7 separate regions of the Homo sapiens genome follow, and regions 1, 2, 3, 4, 6 and 7 are each linked to region 5. Evidence: promoter capture Hi-C in human tissues and cell types (Jung and others, 2019). All regions are on one chromosome and are shown on one strand. Each heading gives the region's core, a stretch centred on a gene start or on the middle of the fragment in contact. The rest is flanking DNA. Distances are from core to core; before and after follow the strand shown. Region 1 overlaps SHISA9 (shisa family member 9). Region 2 overlaps SNX29 (sorting nexin 29). Region 3 overlaps SNX29 (sorting nexin 29). Region 4 overlaps SNX29-AS3 (SNX29 antisense RNA 3). Region 5 holds the start of SHISA9 (shisa family member 9). Region 6 has its middle 6.7 kb from the start of SNX29-AS3. Region 7 overlaps SHISA9 (shisa family member 9).

Region 1 (2,700 bases), core at 21-2,520, 310 kb after region 5:
TAAAAAAAAAGCATACACTTGGTTATCCACATCCCAATAAAAATGAGAAATATTTTCGTCACACTGAAAGTTCCCTCATATCTCCTTCCTTTTAATACCTTAGGTCTACTTCCTCTTCATGAGCATTTTTCACCCTCAAAGTATTTTTCTAATGTCCATGAGTGTGACCAAGTACACAGTGGAGCCTTAACTAAATGTTCCGTAGCCTATACATCATCTTATTAAATGCCCTATTGTCAATGAACTTATAAATGAAAATTCATTATTGTAATAGCTAAGCCCTATCTGAGCTAATGGGAACAGAGGTGACAAAATAATGGTTCCTGCCTTCAAGGCAAACAGCAATGGATTTAATTTGGGGTTCAGATGGCTTCCCTGGAGTCAGCGACTTGTTGGCTTGGTCAGCGTGTGGCCATCCACACAGGAAGAATGGGGGTCGCACCACTATTTCCAGATGACCCTGGCTATGGGGGAGAAGAGAACCGAGTCATCCTGGGTGGGCCCGACTCAGTTTTAACTTCCTCACTCTTCTCTCTTCTGTTGCTCCAATTGTCCCTCTTGTGAGTGATGAGGGGTGTACAGTTCAGATCCACGGGGGGGATGTGGCGATTTGAGCATCCTTTGGCACGCCTGGGGAGGCCAGCCAGAAATGTTTAAATGGGGCCGGATCTGTGCTCTGTAATCATTCAGATGACAGACTGTTCCCTGCGCCTTCACTCAGCCTGATATATCTCTGGAAATAGTGCCAAACTGTTGAGGACTTGGTCTTTCTAGGTAGATGCCTAAGAAAGGAAAGAGCTAGGACCACACGCTGATTGGCCAGGTCTCCAGCCAATGAGGAGAGGTCTCGTGGGTAGGGTTGCCCCACTTTAAGCAAAACCCAATCTTACAGAGAACTATCAAAGAAAATGCGAGGTTGGTGGGGGTTGGGTTGGGTATAGCCTTGGCCAATTCTCAGTATCCTTCATTTTATGAAAGGAGTCATTATGGAATTCTGTTAATAATGTTAGATCTCCCAGGGCTCATTCGGGACATCTGAAAGGGAATTCAATTCGGATAAACTGATTTATAATGAAAACTCCAGGCACACACCTGTTCTGTAAAGCAATGTATTACTCATTATGGGATTCTCAGATAACAAGCTTGATCTCGTTACCGTTTAGAATTTCCCTACCTTAGAAAGGGTGACTCTGTGGATAAAATTGAATGCATTCCTTCATTCAGTCATATTTTCCAAACACAGAATGTGTGTTAGGTACTGTGGTAAGGTAGCCCCCACCCCATGGGGCCTGTCACCCAGCATTTAAAGTCGCAGTCAGTAGAGCCTGTCCCAACCTTGAATCTGGGGCTAATAATGTGCCCCTTTTCAGGAGGGGGATTGCAGTGGAACACGATCAAAGTCTATCTCTTGTCATCAGAGTGTAGTCTTGAGCCAAGGTGAGCTCATATAACTCAAACTTTCCTTTCTTTCTAAGCAGGTTGAAATTTACAGCCAGATTTTCTACCTAAGAATTATCTTTCTGCCTTACGTAACTGAAAATATCTCGGCCTTTTTCAGGAGGCTTCTTTTGATCTTCTGTTGGGTGTTAACGTGAGGCTGCTTCAAGGCCTTGCAGAAAGAGGTACACACATAGCTGCATTTTCACACGTGGCTCCCTTCCCTGTTCCCTGGGTCCCCTGAGGCCTGTCCCTGCTTGGAGGCTGCAGCAGGGGCAGCCAACAGCACCTGGGTGTGAGGGCATAGTGAACATGGGTGCCCTGCAAACAGATCATCAGCATTTCTTGATTGTTATTTTTTTAGGAAGTTCTGATGGTGACTGGGCAGTATCGACACTTAAGTCACCAAAAGGTACTGTACAGCTTTTTCTAGCTCTTTTGTCCAGGTGTTGTCAAAGTTAGCATTAAATAATGAAGGGATAGAGAGTCCTGGTGTCTGTGTGACCTGTGCACATGTGTGTCTGCATAGGGTGGCATCTGCAAGTCCGTCTAAGTTCCAGTGTGTAGGTGTTTGTGTGTTTGTGTGTGTGTGTGTGCATCTAGCAATTGTTGGACAACGTGGTAGCCCTCACTTCCCAATATTTGCTGCCTGATGGAAAATATCACTATGAGAAATCATGCCAGGTAAGGTGAAATATGTTGATTTTTCTCAGAAAGCTGCAATGGCAAATGGCAAAACACAAGGTTAATTAATGGGGGCGGGGCGGGGGAAGAACACAGCTTCTGAGGGAGAGAAAAACATAATCAAGTTATTGGCCAAGGGTCTTGGGAATGACTAGCCTTTTAGAGAACAGAATGCTATTTTCAACTTTCCTGGGACAGCGTGGTGAGCAGAGAGGGTTAGGAAGTTGGTCGACTTGAGTCTGTGAGTTAACCCAGCTGGGTGACCAGACCAGGTGGCAGCTATCATTAATTAGCGCCCTACTATGTGCCAGAGGACTGGCCCTTTACATCATTTTATCATTTAATTCTATGATGATCAGGCTGTGTAGGCATTGTCATCTGCATTTAGAAATGAGGACATGATGTCTAAGTATGGATAAGTCTTGCTGGTCTAGAGTCATGTGACTATTCAGTGGTAGATCTGCAGTTTGAACCTCTATCAGTCTGACCCTTATTCTAAGCTATTTTCCACTAGGGTGTAATGGAAGCAGCTCTTTTTAGAATAGACCAGAAACACCCTTCTCCATATGCTTTGTTGGA
Region 2 (2,700 bases), core at 104-2,603, 340 kb before region 5:
ACAGGTGAAACAAAGTGAAAAGTTAGTCTCTCCTCGCAGCCATTTTCACTGATGAGCAGTTGAGGCTGTCCGATTAATGTCAGCCGCATGCTGGTGACAGGACACAACGCAGTGTACCCCAAGAGGCTTATTAAAAAGAACAGCCACTCCTGGGGCCCTCTGAGGGTGCCCTCACACACAGACCCCCTTTTCCCCAACTCCCCAGTGCTGTGTTAAGTTGCTAGCAGCAGGGAGGATGGAGATGGAGTTTCTGAAATGAACACCAAAGCACATGTCAGGACCACGCGTGGCCTGGCAGGGGGCTCATTACCGCAGCTTACATCCTTCTCCCTGCAGGGGAGGGGAGGCAGTGCCCTGGGGACTTATGGGCTGTCTCCTAGGTGACCGTGGCATCCCAGGAGTTCCTTCTCCAGTTGCCTTCCAGGTGAGCTTAGAGCCAGGTGCATCCCTGGGGGCATGATGTCCCCAGAGTGTCTACCAGCTTGGTGACAATGGACCCTGCAACCCAGGAGGCCTGGCCCCTCATGGATTTAGGGATGGAATCATCTGTGCCGTTTTCCTTCCCGTGTTTTCTGCCCAGTAGTTTGAACCGCATTTCTAAGGCCGTTCACTCTCCTGTGTGACCCCAAAATGGCTCTGGCAATACCAGGTCTGTGGAGTAAGATTGAGGTCTGACCTGAGCATAGGGTTCACAGAGGAGTGAACCCTGCTGGAGGTGGCCAAGTTCAGAAGTGAAGGGCGAGGGCATTCACTAAGCAGCATCCCCATGGGCCACGCTCTATCCCAGCATCAAACGTTATCGTTGGCTTTGTCCCAAGAACCTGCAGGGCAGATTCTGTGATTTCCCCCTTTATTTTTGCTTGCACCATTTTTTAAAACAGCTCAAGAGACAGATCACATACCATACAATTTACCCACTTAAAGTGCACACAGCTTGCTAGTTTGACTTTGATCCCCCTTCATAGGCTAGGAACTCGAGTCCTAGAAAGGAGCATCGTGAGCAGCCCAAGTACACCTGCTGGTGAATGACACAGCCAGGAGTCATCTAAGACACTGTCCCCGTGGTCCCTAGTTTTTACCCAGAGACGGGGACAAAGGTCGCTGGCTCTTGAGAGCTACAGGCTATCAGGGTCTTCCCTGAGGGGCTGTTTTATGTCGGGAAAGTCTAGATTTACAGGCACTGCCTTCTTTGGAGTCGAGATTGAAGCCTACCGTGGTACTGTTTCTCGCTTTTATGGCATAGTTCCTTGAGTTTTCACAAAGGCTTGGAGTCCTTTAGCCATCACCATCAAGATGTGGAACAACTCCTTTCCCCCCAAATTTCCTAGCATTCCCCTATAGGCAACCCGACAGCTCCCGGTCTGTGCTTTGTCATTTCTAGTTTTGGGAATTTGACGATGTGCTTGAGATTCGTCCATGTTGCCAAAAACCTGCATAGTAAGAAGCAAACATTCACCCAACACAAGGGGTGAGGGCTGATGCGTAAGAAAAACTGCTTCAATGCGCCTTTCAAACCGTGTTTACATCATTGCAAGGGCCAAGGTCACCTCGAAATGTAGGTACTGGAAGAGAAATCCAGAATGTTACATAGAAGACGCACGCTAACAACAGAGCCTAGGAAAGGTCGCCACACGTCCTCATCCCAGCTCCAGGGGGGGCAACTCTGGGCTCAGGGATGTCACTTCCCACAGTCAACATGCTGGGATTGAGGCTCATACCCTGAAAGTGGCCTCCCCATCATCACTGACCCCGCCCAGGTAGCAGAGGAACGTCGGGTTCTGGATCCACAGCTCGGAAAGTCTGCTTTGTGACTGGAGAGAGTCACCGTCGAGGAGTGGCCATTATCCTGAGCCTGTCTTTTATCGCCACGTTGATATTTTACCCGTAACCATGAAAATAGATGGCGACTGGATTTTGTTCCTTGCGGTATGTCCTTTGCAGGTAAATTTAGGAAACCTAATAGGGTAAAAGGCTCAAGGAATAGGGCTATTAAAACGGGGAGACTCCTCCCCGCATGTGAAAAATTGAGTTGTCTCCCACCACTACCTGAGGGGTCTACCCCACCCCTTTGGGTGGTGGCTTAGGCCTCCATGTCTGTATCACCACATCTCACAGACGAGACTGTCCTGGCCCCAGAAGGTAGGAACTGAGTCTTTTCAATTCCCCGAGAGCCCATGATGGGGTCTGGCCTCATGTAAGAGGAACATGAGGAAAGCCAGAGATGGCACTGTCATTCTTTACCCAACAGCCACAACTTCTCCACCCTTGTCTGCCGACCTGTCTGAAGACTGCAACACCCACCCATTTGCTGCTTTTTATTTATTCAGGCTGCCTGTAAATATCCCTGCTGAATAGCCATCTCTCCCCATCTCTAGCCCCTTGGGCCTCTGCCGTCTCTGGAGCAGGCAGCCGAAGACCTACAATACCTAGACGCTGATCTTGTTCAAGAAAGACGAGGAAGGGCTTTTCAGATAAGGTTCCCTCTGCCCCTGCAGCACCCTCTTCCCCCAGGGTAGGGAGTTGAGGAGTTGCACCGGTAAAAGGTTGTGGTTTGGCAACGATGCTGTATTTTGGGAGTTTGTAATATCTTTGTAAAATCCTCCTTGATTGGGTGTGGTGGATCGTGCCTATAATCCCAGCACTTGGGAGGCCTGAGGTAGAGGATTGCTTGAGTTCAGGAGTTTGAGACCGTCCTGGGCA
Region 3 (2,700 bases), core at 11-2,510, 360 kb before region 5:
TAGCACATGCCTGGAAACCAGTCAATGCTTGATGAATGTTTATGATGATGCAACAGATGTTTTCCACTGATTGCCCACGGTACATCCTGGGCCCACACAAGAGGACGCTGGATCCACTTCAGAGACTTGGCTTGTCTTATGAGTCCAGAAGGGCTCACGTTTGCAGCACCGCTCTGTTTTTTCTTTTTTTAATTAGTTTGGCAAAGATATTCCTAGTCACCAGTTAGTCCAAATCCTGCAATATTGTCTCTTCCCAACGGATCCCTAAATTGAGCCAGCATTTCCAATTCAGCCCACGCTACCTGGGCTCCTGCTGGGTGTCAGGCCCTGTGCTAAGCCTTTTCCACACAGGGTGTCAAGGAATCTGCAACTCAGAGGGATAGGACCTAGTGTTATTCCCTTTATAGATGAGGAAATTGAGGCATGGAGAAATGGAGGAACTTGCCCAAGATCACAGCTAGTAAGTTTTAGAGCTGCTGTTAGAGCAAGAGATTGTCTCAAAAGAAAAAGTTAGACCCAAGTTCTATCACCCAGGGTGGAGTACAGTGGCACAGTCTCCCCTCACTACAGCCTTCGCCTCCCAAGTTCAATTTTGTTTCCTCAGCTTCCCAAGTAGCTGGGATTACAGGGACCCACTACCACACCTGGCTCATTTTTGTATTTTTAGGAGAGGCAGGGTTTCACCACGTTGGCCAGGCTGATCTTGAACTCCTGACCTCAAGTGATCCACCCGCCTCAGCCTCCCAAAGTGCTGGGATTACAGGCGTGAGCCACGGCACCCAGTGTGGGTCTAACACTTAAACTTGTGTTTGAAGGCAGCGTGTTGGGAACATGGACTTTGGGGCCAGGCTGGTGTTGGTCCCAGTCTTTTACTCTTAAATCTTGTGCATATAAGCACTAGACTATCACTGCCTTTTTTTTTTTTTTAAACAAAGTATTAGTTAAATCAGCAAGTAAGTGAAGTTAAAGCATCCTGTAAGGTGTGTGGACCCATGAGCAGTACTCAGAAATGCTAAATGTCTGAGTCTCTAGAGGTCCCAGAAACATGATTTGAGTAGGGAATCTTTGCTTAGCAAAACTATAGAGCCCTACTTCAAATTAGCTTGAAGCAGAAAAGAAGTACTTACTACTCCTGTAACTATGAAGTCCAGGGACTTGGCTAGCTTCAGGAATGGCTGGATCCAGAGGCTCAAAAAGTGTCACCAGGACCCTGTTGGTTTCACCCTCAAGCATGTTCTGTCTGGTGGAAAGATGGATCCTGGCAGCTGCGTATCTTATAGATGGTTTAGATCCAGGCCCTGAAGCATAAGTGTTCTCATCAGCTCCTGTAGAAGTCCTAGGAAAAATCATATTCATCACGTTGCTCCTGATAGCTGTAGCGGAAATTCTAGAGATTCTGAATGATGCAGCTCTGGGTCATCAGCGCATGCATCTGGGTCCGTGCCTGTGGCCCGGGGAATGGAGCACCTTGATTAGCCAAATCTGGGGCAGAGGAGCAGGGTGTTCAGCCCACCTAAGCTCATGGACTGAACATGATTATCCAGAAGGAGGGGGCCCGATTCACTGAAAGGAGAGAAAGTGGGTGGGCAAACATATGTTCATGCTGCGGGGTCTGGTGAACAGCTGTCAGTAAAGCCACAGCCACCTGTGCTGGCGAGTCATTGTGTAAGAAGCTTGTGACACCTTTGGCCCAGACTTCCACGCCCACTGAGCCACGAGATCACGCTTCCGTGGTGCGTCCCAGTTCATCCTCCCCGATGGAGTGGGCAGTGCCCCAGTGCTCCGCAGCTGGTGCCGTCTGTCTCCAGACGCTCTTCCAGCCTGCATTCAACAAGCCAGTCGTATCAGAAAATATTAACCACGGGAATTAATGAATTTTGGCATTGCAGTGGAGTTGACTGGGGGAGATTTTCCAAGTTTATTTTCCAAGATGTATCTGGTGCTCTAGAGATTTCTCCCAGCCCATGAGACAGGGACACCTTCGTATTTGGAAGAGAGAAGCCAGTGGTGGAACATCCTCTTACCACACTACAAGAGCTTGCGTATTCCTTCATCCTGGATTGCCGAAGGTGGAATCCGGCACCCTCTCGTTCTAAGCGAGGAGCCTATCTGCTGGGAGAAATGGTCTCAGCCAAGGTCACACCATGGGTTAAATGCAAAAGCCCTGGACTCTAGACCCCGTTGACTCATCACATTGCAAAGCCACAGGAATCACATTGGTAGGGGTAGAGGTCTTTCTGCAGACTTGGTTGTGGAAGGCTGTTAAGGAAAACAAGTCCATAACCCTATATTCACCGGCATCATTCCTAAGAACACGGGATGGGAATCGGTGGTGTGCACATCAGCCAAGGCTTCAGAACCGTGACAGCCGGTTCCTCACCACACCAAGATTGAAACTAACTTACCCAGATTGCAACTCAGGACTTTACACTCTCAGTACGGCATCCAGGCCACAGGGGAAGGTGGACCCCAAAGTCATGAGGCAGGAAAAGTCAGTACTGTTGGAAAGGAGAAGTGATGCTGGGGAGTGGAAGGCGTTGTGAGGTGGTTCTGCTAAAACATTATGTCAGCTGGTGGGATTTGGACGTTTCTCTTTCTCTACCCTATCTCATTCTGAAGAGGCCGATTTTATGATTGGGGTCGGCTGGGGTCTAGATGGCATTTTTCTGTGGGGAATTGTGTGGCCTAGGAACATTCTCT
Region 4 (2,700 bases), core at 13-2,512, 300 kb before region 5:
GTGGCAATCCGGAACAATCCACCTCTCACTGTCCCCAATCCATAAAGAGTCCTTCAGTTGAATATCACCAGGAACAAAGTTGCTGTTAATTCTTAAGTTGCCTCTGCACAAATCACCAAAGTATTTATTCTCCTAGACAGATGCAGTCCTACACTTAGCTTCACAGGCTTGGCGAGTGGGGCACCGGTCAGGCTTCAACTCCTACAGGCTCCATCAGAGGACATCCTGGAATTGTGTGCAACCTGTTCAACTGCACATGGCAGCCTTAAAGAGGTCCAGGATTTCCATCTGAGGTATTAAGAAAAGCAATCATAACTCTTCCTTCCACTCCCCGAAAGCATCACAAGGTCTTACCCACAGAGCTCAGCTTTAGTGAGCAAACTTCTTATACCTCAAATAAGAATCCTGTTTGGACAATGAAGAATCTGCCTTTGGCTAAGTGTTGGCTGCTGTGTAGATAATGTGCATATTGCCTAAACAGTCAGGCTCTGAAAATTGGGGAACTTCATCCCATTGCAATGGAAATAGTCAAGGTAAGGGAAGGCCTGGAGATGCAGGTTGGCCTTTGTTTTCTGGGGTTCTCAGACTCAGTACCTTCACAGTTCAGGAAGCCTCTGTCCTCCTCCTCACATAGCAGATACCACCTTGATCCTGCTCATCTTCCCTGGTTTCAGTAGAAGTCATTTTTTTGAGCATCTGTTACTCACAAGGACAGGTGGCTAACACATTTTAGAGCTACCATGTTAGGTGGGAATTGACACCCAGAGCAAGGCCACACAACTAGAGTGAGCCACACTCACACTCAGGGTAGCCAACTCCCAAAGCTAGCGATCCTTGGTGAAAGTCCAAATACCAACATCAATAACACTTAAGAGCGTGTTAATGCTTATCAGTTTCTAAGCCCCAAAGTCACTACTGTTCCTTATACAAAAAACATGCCTCCAATGAATGCAAATTAAGACCACAGTGATTTGTCATTTTAGAAATACCAGGCTGGCAAAAATGTCAAAACCTAATACGTTATAGTAGGCAGAGAAATGGCCCCGTGCAAGCATCCATCTCCTCCTGTCATGGGACACATCGTGGGTCATGGCAATGGCAAGGGCAGCCCATGTGGAGCAGCTACTGCAGGATGCCAGTTGCAGAGGCGGCAGCATGGCCAGGGCTGCGCAATTCAGAGCCAGCAAGACCTGGGAACATGCATGAGCCCCACCCTCCTGGGCACAACTGCAGCCACCCGGCTGTGGTTCTGGACCCGGGCATCCCTGTGCTCTCAGGGGGCTGGGAAGCCTCCCCTCCTACCGCAGGCTCCGAAGTGCCTGTTCCCACTTCCCTGGCCTGTCCCTGGATCCGGTGCCCACTTCAATTTCAAAGCAAAGTTGTGGCCAAGCCTAGACACTTTAGTAACCCACCTGGGGGGTACATGTGCTTCGGGCAGGATTCAAACACCAGCATATACACCACCACCCCCAACCACTACCTTGGCCCCCTCTGGACTTTGGGTGGCACTAAGTGTGGGAGGGAGGTCGGGGTGGCTGAGGGCAGCTCAGCATGGGCCTGCAAGAATCCCTAGGCCCAAACAGCCTGGGTGCTGTGGACAGCATGTTGATGGCGGGAGGCAGACACGTTTCTGGACAGAAAGGGGTAGGTCCCTGGTGAAACCTCACCTTCAAAGCCAGGGATGGCCTGAAGCCCGGGCTGTCTGTTCCAGGTGGAGTGAGAACTTATACTGCTTTCACTGGGCCCACTCATGGACCAATCAGCATGTACTTCCTTTCTTCTGAGCCTCTAACAACCCCAGACTCAGCCAGACTAACACAAGTCGGGACTACCAGCTACAGGAAGGAGTTACCCACTTCGGGTCTCCTCTCTGGTGAAAGCTGGACAGTCATCAGGACAACCTGCCTTTGGGAAGAAGCTACCCTCCGCAAGCCTCCTGAGAGCTGTTCCGTCACTCAGTGAAGCTCTTCTCTACCTTGCTCACCCTCCAGTTGTCCGTGTACCTCATTCTTCTAGGAAGGAGGACAAGTACTTGGGACCCGCCAAATGGTGGGACTGAAAGAGCTGTAACAAACAGGGCTGAAACACACCCACACACACTAACTTGCCACATTGCATGTATTGAGAAGGAAAGAGTTGCAGTCCTCCAGGGAACCCAGATCTAGGGGGCTCCCCAAGCCAGGACTGTAACACCCTCTTTGGGGATCAGGAGTTCCTGGCATCTCCAAGCTTCCAGCTGCCAGCACATACCCCTTGTTCAGACAAGGGTACCCACAGAAACAGCCACATGTGGTACGTCTGGTCCAGTCAGCCTTGCAGAGTCAGCACCTGTGCCAGTACCCAGAGCTGCCTGCCCTGTTGTAGCACCCAGCACACCTGGCCATACACAGCAGCCAGGCCCCACGCTTGTCACCCACACACCCGTCGTCACTTCGTGCCTGGCTCACCCTTGGAAGGTATGGGGTTCTGGGCCAGTGGCATGAGCCAAGTGCAGCCTGCTTAGCCAGGTGAGCACAATGAGCCCAGCAGGTGTGAGCAATGCTCAGGCAGAAGGTCCCACTGACCACAGGGGTTTCCAGTTGCAAAGCAACACCCTAAGGATCTTGTGATGATGGCAAGGGGGCATGAAGGATACAGATGGGATCAAGGTTGCTAACCAGCTGAGTGTGATGGCAAGATTATCCTGGATTAGCTGGGTGT
Region 5 (2,700 bases), core at 133-2,632:
AGAAAACTTGCAACAGAGTCCCAATAAATCCTCCCACCCTTTCTCAATTCAGGGGACCCTAGTAAACCATTTTACATGTCGCCCAACTTTTCGTTCTCTGAAGATGCCCTGAGAAGCCCTTGACTGCAGCCAAGTGGAGAGGAGGGTTGTGGAAACATTATCTCCTTGCAAATCGCCTAGCAGCCTGCAAAGTGTATACTTAGTTAATGCAATTAAAAAACAAAACGCCGGGGCGTGGGGAGATCTAAATTTGGTGTAGCAGCTTTGGTGCAAATCCTGTTTTGGGGCTACTGGAGTCAAATTCAAGCAGAGGAGAGAAAGAGGTGGGAGAAATGAGAGAGGGCCTCCGGGGAGCTGGAATTCGCTAGGAGAGAGAGGGCAGATTTGGAAACACAGAGGAGACGGGAGGCTGGAAGCTGAGGAAGCAAGGCAGAGCTCTGCAGCCCCCGGTGAGGATTTCCGGGGGGATCCGTGGGGACAGGGGCCAGCCAGCTCCAGAGACCGATGCGCGGGCTCCAGGTCCGGGAGGGTGGCTGAGGCTGGGTGCCCAGGCCTTGCGCTGCGCCAGATCCGGGAGCGCAGAGGCGGCGCCGCGGTGTTCCCTCCTGTGGAGCGCAGAAAACGCTGCGGGGGCGAAGAGGGACAGAAAGCGGCAGGTTCGAGAGGCTGGGGGACTTCCAAGGAAAGACCTTCCAGGACACGCCATAGCCTCGGCCTTGTTCGGCTGTCCCCTCTTACCCCCGACCTTCTTTGATTCGTTCATCCCGAGCCCCTCTCCCCCGGAGGGTGCTTATCCCTGGCTCAGGGGCTTGCCACCTGTCCTTCCCAGCTCCGCCTGGGTCCTTGCTTGGGCCCAGAGAGTTGAGCCATGCGGGTTGCGCTCAGGGCTGGAGGGCGCAGCCGGGAAGGGCAAGGAGGCCCCGCACGCCTGGGAGGGGCGATCCTGACCAGACTGCACCCAGTCTGTCTTGGAGTGAAAGCCATTTAGTCTGTCCCCATCCTCTCCGAGTCATCCTTCCCCTGATGCACAGATTTCGGCCGCCGCTCCTGCACACGCACCGGTGAAAAAGCTACGAGCTGAGCCGCCTCTGCGCTCTGGACAGGGCTGAGCCGCGCCTCCTACCCAGAGAGGGCGCGGGAGGTCCTGCCGCGGTTTTCCACCTGCCTGGAAATCCGAGCGGCTCCTCTAGCCTCGGCTGCTGCCGAGCTCGCTCCTCCCCGTCCGCTCGCCTGGCTCAGCTCTGCACGCCCCCCAGCTAGCTCCCGCTCTAGTCACCTCTTCCCCGCGCCCCCGCCCCTCTAGAGCTCGCGCCCGCCCCCCCCCACCCGCGCCTCCTCTGCCCGCCCTCCTCCCCCTCCCCCTTCCCTCCTGCCCTCCCTTCATTCCACAAGTGTCGCTTCGCTCTCTTCAGCGCACTTGGCGAGCTGGTGAGGTGAGAGGGATACTGCGAGAGGGCTAGGGGCGGCCAGTCCGGGGCTGCCGGCCAAGGCTAGGCGCTGCCAGCCCGATTCTCCTCTGCTCTCCACCCCCGCCTCACCCAGTGGCCGGCCGGACCTGCACCCCGCGCTTGACCCCGCTCATCCTCCCCCCGCCCGGCCGGGCGCGCTCCTCCCCGGCCGGCCCCTCGGCGCGCGGCGCGCTGGAGGCGAACGCGGGCTGAGGCGAACGCGGGCTGAGCCGAGCGCAGTGGCCGCCGACCACCGAGCGCCCCGCGCCGCTCCCTGCATGTGCGGCCCGCGGCGGCTCGCAGCTCCCGGCAGCAGCCTCGGCAGCTTCGGCCGCGCCTCGAGAGGCGGCCGCAGAGGCTCCAGCGGCGGCCGAGCGGCCGAGCCCGGGCTGGGAGACACCATGCGCCGCGTCCTTCGGCTGCTCCTCGGTTGCTTCCTCACCGAGCTGTGCGCCCGCGTGTGCCGGGCGCAGGAGCGAGCGGGACACGGGCAGCTGGCGCAACTGGGCGGCGTGTTGCTGCTGGCGGGGGGCAACCGCTCCGGGGCCGCCTCCGGAGAGGCCAGCGAGGGCGCTGAGGCATCGGACGCGCCCCCGACCCGGGCGCCCACGCCGGACTTCTGCCGGGGCTACTTCGATGTCATGGGCCAGTGGGACCCGCCGTTCAACTGCAGCTCGGGCGACTTCATCTTCTGCTGCGGGACTTGTGGCTTCCGGTTCTGCTGCACGTTTAAGAAGCGGCGACTGAACCAAAGCACCTGCACCAACTACGACACGCCGCTCTGGCTCAACACCGGCAAGCCCCCCGCCCGCAAGGACGACCCCTTGCACGACCCCACCAAGGACAAGACCAACCTGATCGTCTACATCATCTGCGGGGTGGTGGCCGTCATGGTGCTCGTGGGCATCTTCACCAAGCTGGGGCTGGAGAAAGCGCACCGGCCCCAAAGGGAGCACATGTCCAGGTGGGCTGCCTCCCCTTCGCCCTCCCCTCGGGGCTTCGCTCTCCCTGCTCTCTCCTCCCCACCTTCCCCCAGGCAATGGCGCTCCCCACGGTCCCCGCTCCCCGCATCCCAGCCTCTCCGCTGGGGGATGTCACCGGGAAGCCAACTTCGGCTTGGAACACGGAGAAGGGGCGCTGGGCTCAGCACAGGTGTGGGTCTGAGCGTGTTCGTGTGTGTGTGAGCGTGTGTGTGTGTGTGTGTGACTCTGCTCCCTCACCCTCTGGCCGCCTCCTCCCGCTGGTGACTGAG
Region 6 (2,700 bases), core at 192-2,691, 280 kb before region 5:
TGAGCCCCTGCACCCCTCCCATTGCTACTTTTCAAAATTGCACTTGAGGTTGTAGCTTATGTAATAAGAATTTTAAGTAGCAGGGCGATACAAAATTGCAGTTGTTTACACATTATTCTCCAAGCTAGAAAATGGTCAGGAAACTGACATTTACTTTGAGCAGGGTAGTCCCATACTGTATCAACGTAAAAACGAACAAGTCAAATATACAACACAAAGCTTTTTAGAAACAATAGCCGCAAAGCTAAATCTTATTTTAAACGATCTATATAAAACTAAATTTTCACTAAATGACAGACTTGTATCACCCTCAAAGACTGTCAGTCAATTCTTCCCAAATTTTATGAACGTAATGCATCACAACCCTTGTTCCGTATGTCAATTCTTTGTAGAATTTGACCAACTTATTCTGAAACGCAGAAGAGCTAGGGCAGTTTTGGGAAGGGAAAAATAAAGGGAAACTTTGACCACTACAAACAAGAATCATATTACAAAGCTCTATGAAACCAGGGCAGGAATACATAAACCAAAGAATCAACACCCAAGTAGAGACAAAGGTTTGACAGAGGTTAAAGCGGGTATTTTCACATGAGCAGAGCAAGACTCAGTCTTAAAACAACTGCCTGTGCATCCAGAAAAACAGTACATTGGAACACTTGTCACACACAAAAGTGAACTTTAGCAAATCCTCGAACTATTTGAATAATGAAATACAATTTATAGACCTTGCACTATTAGACTTACAAATAAGTTTTTCAAAAACTATAGAAGAAATGACTGATGACCACAGTGAAGTGTTGAGGTTCTGCATGACAAAAATATGAACAAAGTAACACCAACATTCCAGAAGGTATTTGTAACTTACAGCAAATTGTTAATGACAAGGGTCCCCAAACCCCAGGCCACAGACCAAGAAACGTTCGTGGCCCATTAGGAGCAGGTGACACAGCAGAAGGTAAGCAGCTGGCGAACAAAGCGTCTGTATTTACAGCTTCTTCCCATTGGTCACATCACCACCTGAGCTCTGCCTGTCCATCAGTGGCAGCATTAGATTCTCACAGGAGAATGAACCCCTATTGTGAACTGCGCGTGTGAGGGATCTAGATTGCGTGCTCCTTCTGACAAGGTAACTAATGCCAAATGATCTGTCACTGTCTCCCACCTCCCACCTCCAGATGGGGCCGTCTAGTTTCAGGAAAACAAGGTCAGGGCTCCCACTGATTCTACATTATGGTGAGTTGTGTAGTTTCATTATTATGTCATAATTTTAAAGTACACGAGAAATGTAAGGTGCCTGAACCATCTCCCAAACTGTCCTCCCCTCCCACCAACCCCATCTGTGGAAAAACTGTCCTCCACACAACCGGTTTCCTGTTGCCAGAGTTTGCTGACTGCCAATCTACAATGTATGTGCTTTAGAGAACACCCCTTTTGTTTTTTACATTGGCTGAAACTGGTCAAGAAAATAGGCTTCTCTCCCCAAGGCCTCCCCATTTCCCAAGAAAATGAGATACTAATCAAAAAGTGGATATAAATAAGCAATTCACAGAAAATGCACTCACTGACCATATGAAAAGATGTTCACCTCATCAGCAATCAGGGGGCTATAGGTTAATGAAGTATTTCTAGCTATTAAATCACCAAAAGCTTAAATATGATCAGGTGTTCTCACACCTCACTTGTGGTCCAATTCCTATAACCGTTTTGGAGAAAATTTTGACAAAGAAATATGTGCATGCCCCAAGATGGAGCCACCATCAGTATCTCCGCTTGAAAAGCATTTACCCAAACATCAAGATGGCCTGGCCAGGGGCCTGAGCTGTGTGTAGTAAAGAAAAACAACAGGAAACCACCCAGATCGCGTCCAATTGATAGGATGGTTGTGTAAACTTTTATATATTTGGACCATAATAAACCAAGCAGTTAGAAAATTTCTCCGAGTATACTGATACAGCTGAGCTGCAAGCAGCGAAAAAACCAAGTTGCTGAATGATATGTACATGATACAGTTTATACCTAACAGTTGCTGAAAGCATAGATGTTAACGCATAGGAAAGGCCTGGGAAAGTGCACATGAAACTGAACAAGATCTGCCCCAGGGAAGGGGGAAGGAGACTGAGTCCTAGAATCATGGTAGGTGGTCATGGTACAGTGGGTAGCTAGTCAGACATGAGCAGGGAAGCAGCAGCCCCCATCCCCCCACCACCACCAGGAATGCCAGGGCACTACCAGGTCATGTTCTGGCAGTTGTTAATGGTCTGAAATAATTGGTCTCAGCCAGTGCCAGGGAAAGGCAGGCTTACAACAGATAGACACACCTGAGGGCGAGCACAGTTGCTCATGCCTGTAATCCCAGTTTGGGAGGCCGAGGTGGGTGGATCATGAGATCAAGGGTTTGAGACCAGCTTGGCCAACATAGTGAAACCCCGTCTCTGCTATAAATACAAAAATTAGCCAGGCATGGTGATGAACTCCTGTAGTCCCAACTACTCGGGAAGCTGAGGCAGGAGACTCGCTTGAACCCAGGAGGCAGAGGTTGAGGTGAGCTGAGATTGTGCCACTGCACTCCAGCCTGGGAAACAGAGCAAGAATTCGTCTCAAGAAAAAAAAAAAAAAAAAAAAAAAAAAAAAAAAAAAGACACCCTAAACTGGTCATCAACAGCTTACCAGTAAGATCTCAGGAGCTGGGCAAGTGGGCTC
Region 7 (2,700 bases), core at 1-2,500, 330 kb after region 5:
CCAGAAAAATGGGACAATTCGAAGGGGATGGTGAGTGGGGAGCTTCAAGGCTATAGGTAAATGTAAACATTTCCTGGTTGACAATTGGTTGAGTCTAAAGACCTGGGATCAATAGAAAGGGAATGTTCAGGTGAAGATAAAAGATTGTGGAGACCAAGGTTCTTTTGAAGTCTTATAGTGGCAGCCCTTAGAGACAATAGAAGACAAATGTTTCCTATTTAGACTTTTAAAAGGTGCTAGACTCTCAGTTAATCTCTTTACGATTGGGAGGGCCTGGAAGAAAAAATCTAGCTATGTTAATAGAGCTTATTTACACATGTAGGTTTTACCCCACAAAAAAACTTTTTTTTTGCAGGGCCATTTCAAAGAACGACAAAAAAACATGTTTTGGGGTAAAATATTTTGACTTTCTTCTTTGTCATGTAATGTTGTGTCAGAGTCAGATAGGAAAGTAAGTCACGATATATAGCGTTAAATAAAACCCATCTGATGAGAATTTATGGTTTGTAGGATATGACTCCCAGACCCCTTAGATAGAAATCTGGGCAAGATAAGAAAAAATCAGAGCTTAGTCCTCAAAAGAAAGAACGAGAAAGAGAAGTAAAAATGAAGGAAGAGAGGGAGGGAGGAAGAGAGAGAGGAAGAAGGAAGGAAGGAAGGAAGGAATCCTTCAATGCTGGAGAGAGTGTAGTTAAATTGAGTGGAAATTGGTAAAACTCTTTTGTAGAATAGTTGGCAATATGTATCAAGAGCCTTAACAATGTTTATACTCTTTGGCCAAATAATTCTACTTTTTATAATCCAAATCAAAGGTCAGCAAACTTTTTAAAGAAGGACTGGGTAGTAAATATCTCAGGCTCTTCAGGTCTCACGGTTTCTGTCAGCTGAGTTTCAACCAGCACTCAATTCTACCACAGCAGAACAAAAGCAGCTATGGATAATATATAAATGAATGGGCATGGTTTTGTGTCCAATAAAACCTTGTTTACAAAATCAGGATGTGGCCAGATTTGGCCCCGTGGGCTATAGTTTGCCAATCCCTGATGTAAATTAAGAAAACAGGCCTGGTGCGGTAGCTCACACCTGTAATCCCAAGCACTTTGGGAGGCCAAGGTGGGAGGATTGCTTGAGCCCCGGAGTTCAAGACCAGCCTGGGCAACATGGTGAAACCTCATTTCTACAAACAAAAAAATACAAAAATTAGCCTAGTGTGGTGATGCTTGCCTGTGGTCCCAGCTACTCAGGAGAATCATCTGAACCTAGGAGGTAGAGGCTGCAGTGAGCTATGATTGTGCCACTGCACTCCAGCCTGGGCAGCAGAGTAAGATCCTGTCTGAAAAAATAATAATAAATAAATAAATAAGAAAACATTTTTAGAATTATGCTAAATTCAAAATTCTAAATATAAAGAGAGGTTTAAGTGAAAAGTTGCTATTACATACAACTGTATTTGTAATAGCAAAATATTGGCACAATTAGAACACTCATTAATAGGGGAATTAATTAATTTTGATAGTTCCACTCAATGAAATACTAGGTACACATGAAAATCCTGTTTATTAATAATTTATAACAACATGAAGAAATGCTTGATAGAACATTACTTGAGAAATAGAAACAAACTTATTTATAATGACGATGATAATGGTGGTAGATAATATCTAAGCACTTTACACAGATCATATCATTTAACTCTCCAAACAGACCTATGAAGTATACTTTTTTATTGTAATGGCTTTCCTTATGGAGAAGCTGATGCTGACAAATGTTAAGTAATTTAGTCAAGGTTAAGCTGCTGGCAGGTGTCACAGTTGAAATGTGAATACAGGTCTGGTTTAACTGCTAAAAGCAAAAACAAAAGCAAACAAACCAGCGGAGAAAAATCCCAAATTAAACTCTGTTTATTAAAAATACCAGAAGAAAATACACCCAAAAGTTGTTATCGGCTGTCTTGATTGGTAGGTCATAGATAGGAAGATCACTTAACATGTTCACTCTTTTCTCTAATGAAAATGTATCATTTTAATAAAAAAGAAACAACACGCGAATTTCATAGGCAAACCAACGATGGCAGAATGGTAGGTGGGACTGTGGGGGGAGAAGTGTTTATTTCGGAGGTCTAGAGGTTCCCTTGGGGATGCCTTTAATCCTCTTGGTCCTGCTCTTTGTTTGTGAAAAGGGCATGGTGCTGCCCTTCCCTCTGTCTTGTTCTAGGTGGAGTTTCTAGTGTGTCTTGTTTGGACTGTTGGCCCATTTTTATGCTGTTCTTGGGTTGACATGCCAGTCTCTAACTCTCTCTCTCTCTCTCTCTCTCTCTCTCTTCTCTTTCTTCCCCTTCTTCATCCACCCGTTCCGATGTGTAGCTGACAAGGTCAATGACGACTTCTACACCAAGCGACGGCACCTGGCTGAGCTGGCTGCCAAGGGGAACTTACCTCTGCACCCCGTAAGAGTGGAGGACGAGCCCCGGGCCTTCAGCCCTGAGCACGGTCCTGCCAAGCAGAATGGACAGAAGTCCCGCACCAACAAGATGCCCCCACATCCCCTGGCCTACACCTCTACCACCAACTTTAAGGGCTGGGACCCCAACGAGCAGTCCCTCCGGCGGCAGGCTTACAGCAACAAGGGCAAGCTTGGCACGGCCGAGACAGGCTCCAGCGACCCCTTGGGAACTCGCCCCCAGCACTACCCACCCCCACA

Evidence for each region. Contacts are between HindIII fragments. The study calls those that stand out against the background at their distance.
Region 1: a fragment that was not itself captured here is called in contact with the fragment with the promoter of SHISA9 in region 5 in 5 of the 25 tissues and cell types used here (H1 embryonic stem cells, bladder, liver and 2 more).
Region 2: a fragment that was not itself captured here is called in contact with the fragment with the promoter of SHISA9 in region 5 in 1 of the 25 tissues and cell types used here (spleen).
Region 3: a fragment that was not itself captured here is called in contact with the fragment with the promoter of SHISA9 in region 5 in 2 of the 25 tissues and cell types used here (dorsolateral prefrontal cortex and hippocampus).
Region 4: a contact is called between a fragment that was not itself captured here and the fragment with the promoter of SHISA9 in region 5, in 2 of the 25 tissues and cell types used here (mesendoderm cells and thymus).
Region 6: a contact is called between a fragment that was not itself captured here and the fragment with the promoter of SHISA9 in region 5, in 2 of the 25 tissues and cell types used here (bladder and dorsolateral prefrontal cortex).
Region 7: a contact is called between a fragment that was not itself captured here and the fragment with the promoter of SHISA9 in region 5, in 1 of the 25 tissues and cell types used here (H1 embryonic stem cells).

The regions. Positions count from the first base shown.
Region 1 is chr16:13,211,452-13,214,151 of GRCh38, forward strand. It overlaps SHISA9 (shisa family member 9), which reads left to right. Exons shown (of 5, transcript NM_001145204.3): 4 at 1,802-1,849. Among named protein-coding and RNA genes, the nearest start is that of SHISA9, 310 kb to the left of the region's middle. The HindIII fragment of the contact is 6,661 bases long and covers 1-2,700 here.
Region 2 is chr16:12,561,502-12,564,201 of GRCh38, forward strand. All of the region lies in intron 20 of SNX29 (sorting nexin 29), which reads left to right. The region is part of intron 2 of SNX29-AS3 (SNX29 antisense RNA 3); the gene reads right to left. Among named protein-coding and RNA genes, the nearest start is that of SNX29-AS3, 48 kb to the right of the region's middle. The HindIII fragment of the contact is 4,016 bases long and covers 1-2,700 here.
Region 3 is chr16:12,541,847-12,544,546 of GRCh38, forward strand. The region is part of intron 20 of SNX29 (sorting nexin 29); the gene reads left to right. It also overlaps a transcript of SNX29-AS3 not described here. Among named protein-coding and RNA genes, the nearest start is that of SNX29-AS3, 68 kb to the right of the region's middle. The HindIII fragment of the contact is 6,327 bases long and covers 1-2,700 here.
Region 4 is chr16:12,599,120-12,601,819 of GRCh38, forward strand. All of the region lies in intron 1 of SNX29-AS3 (SNX29 antisense RNA 3), which reads right to left. Among named protein-coding and RNA genes, the nearest start is that of SNX29-AS3, 11 kb to the right of the region's middle. The HindIII fragment of the contact is 6,215 bases long and covers 1-2,700 here.
Region 5 is chr16:12,900,216-12,902,915 of GRCh38, forward strand. SHISA9 (shisa family member 9) reads left to right here and starts at 1,383. Exons shown (of 5, transcript NM_001145204.3): 1 at 1,383-2,412. The coding sequence starts at 1,850. The HindIII fragment of the contact is 6,671 bases long and covers 1-2,700 here.
Region 6 is chr16:12,616,510-12,619,209 of GRCh38, forward strand. No RefSeq gene overlaps it. Among named protein-coding and RNA genes, the nearest start is that of SNX29-AS3, 6.7 kb to the left of the region's middle. The HindIII fragment of the contact is 3,028 bases long and covers 1-2,700 here.
Region 7 is chr16:13,232,667-13,235,366 of GRCh38, forward strand. SHISA9 (shisa family member 9) reads left to right here. Exons shown (of 5, transcript NM_001145204.3): 5 at 2,364-2,700. Among named protein-coding and RNA genes, the nearest start is that of SHISA9, 330 kb to the left of the region's middle. The HindIII fragment of the contact is 4,795 bases long and covers 1-2,700 here.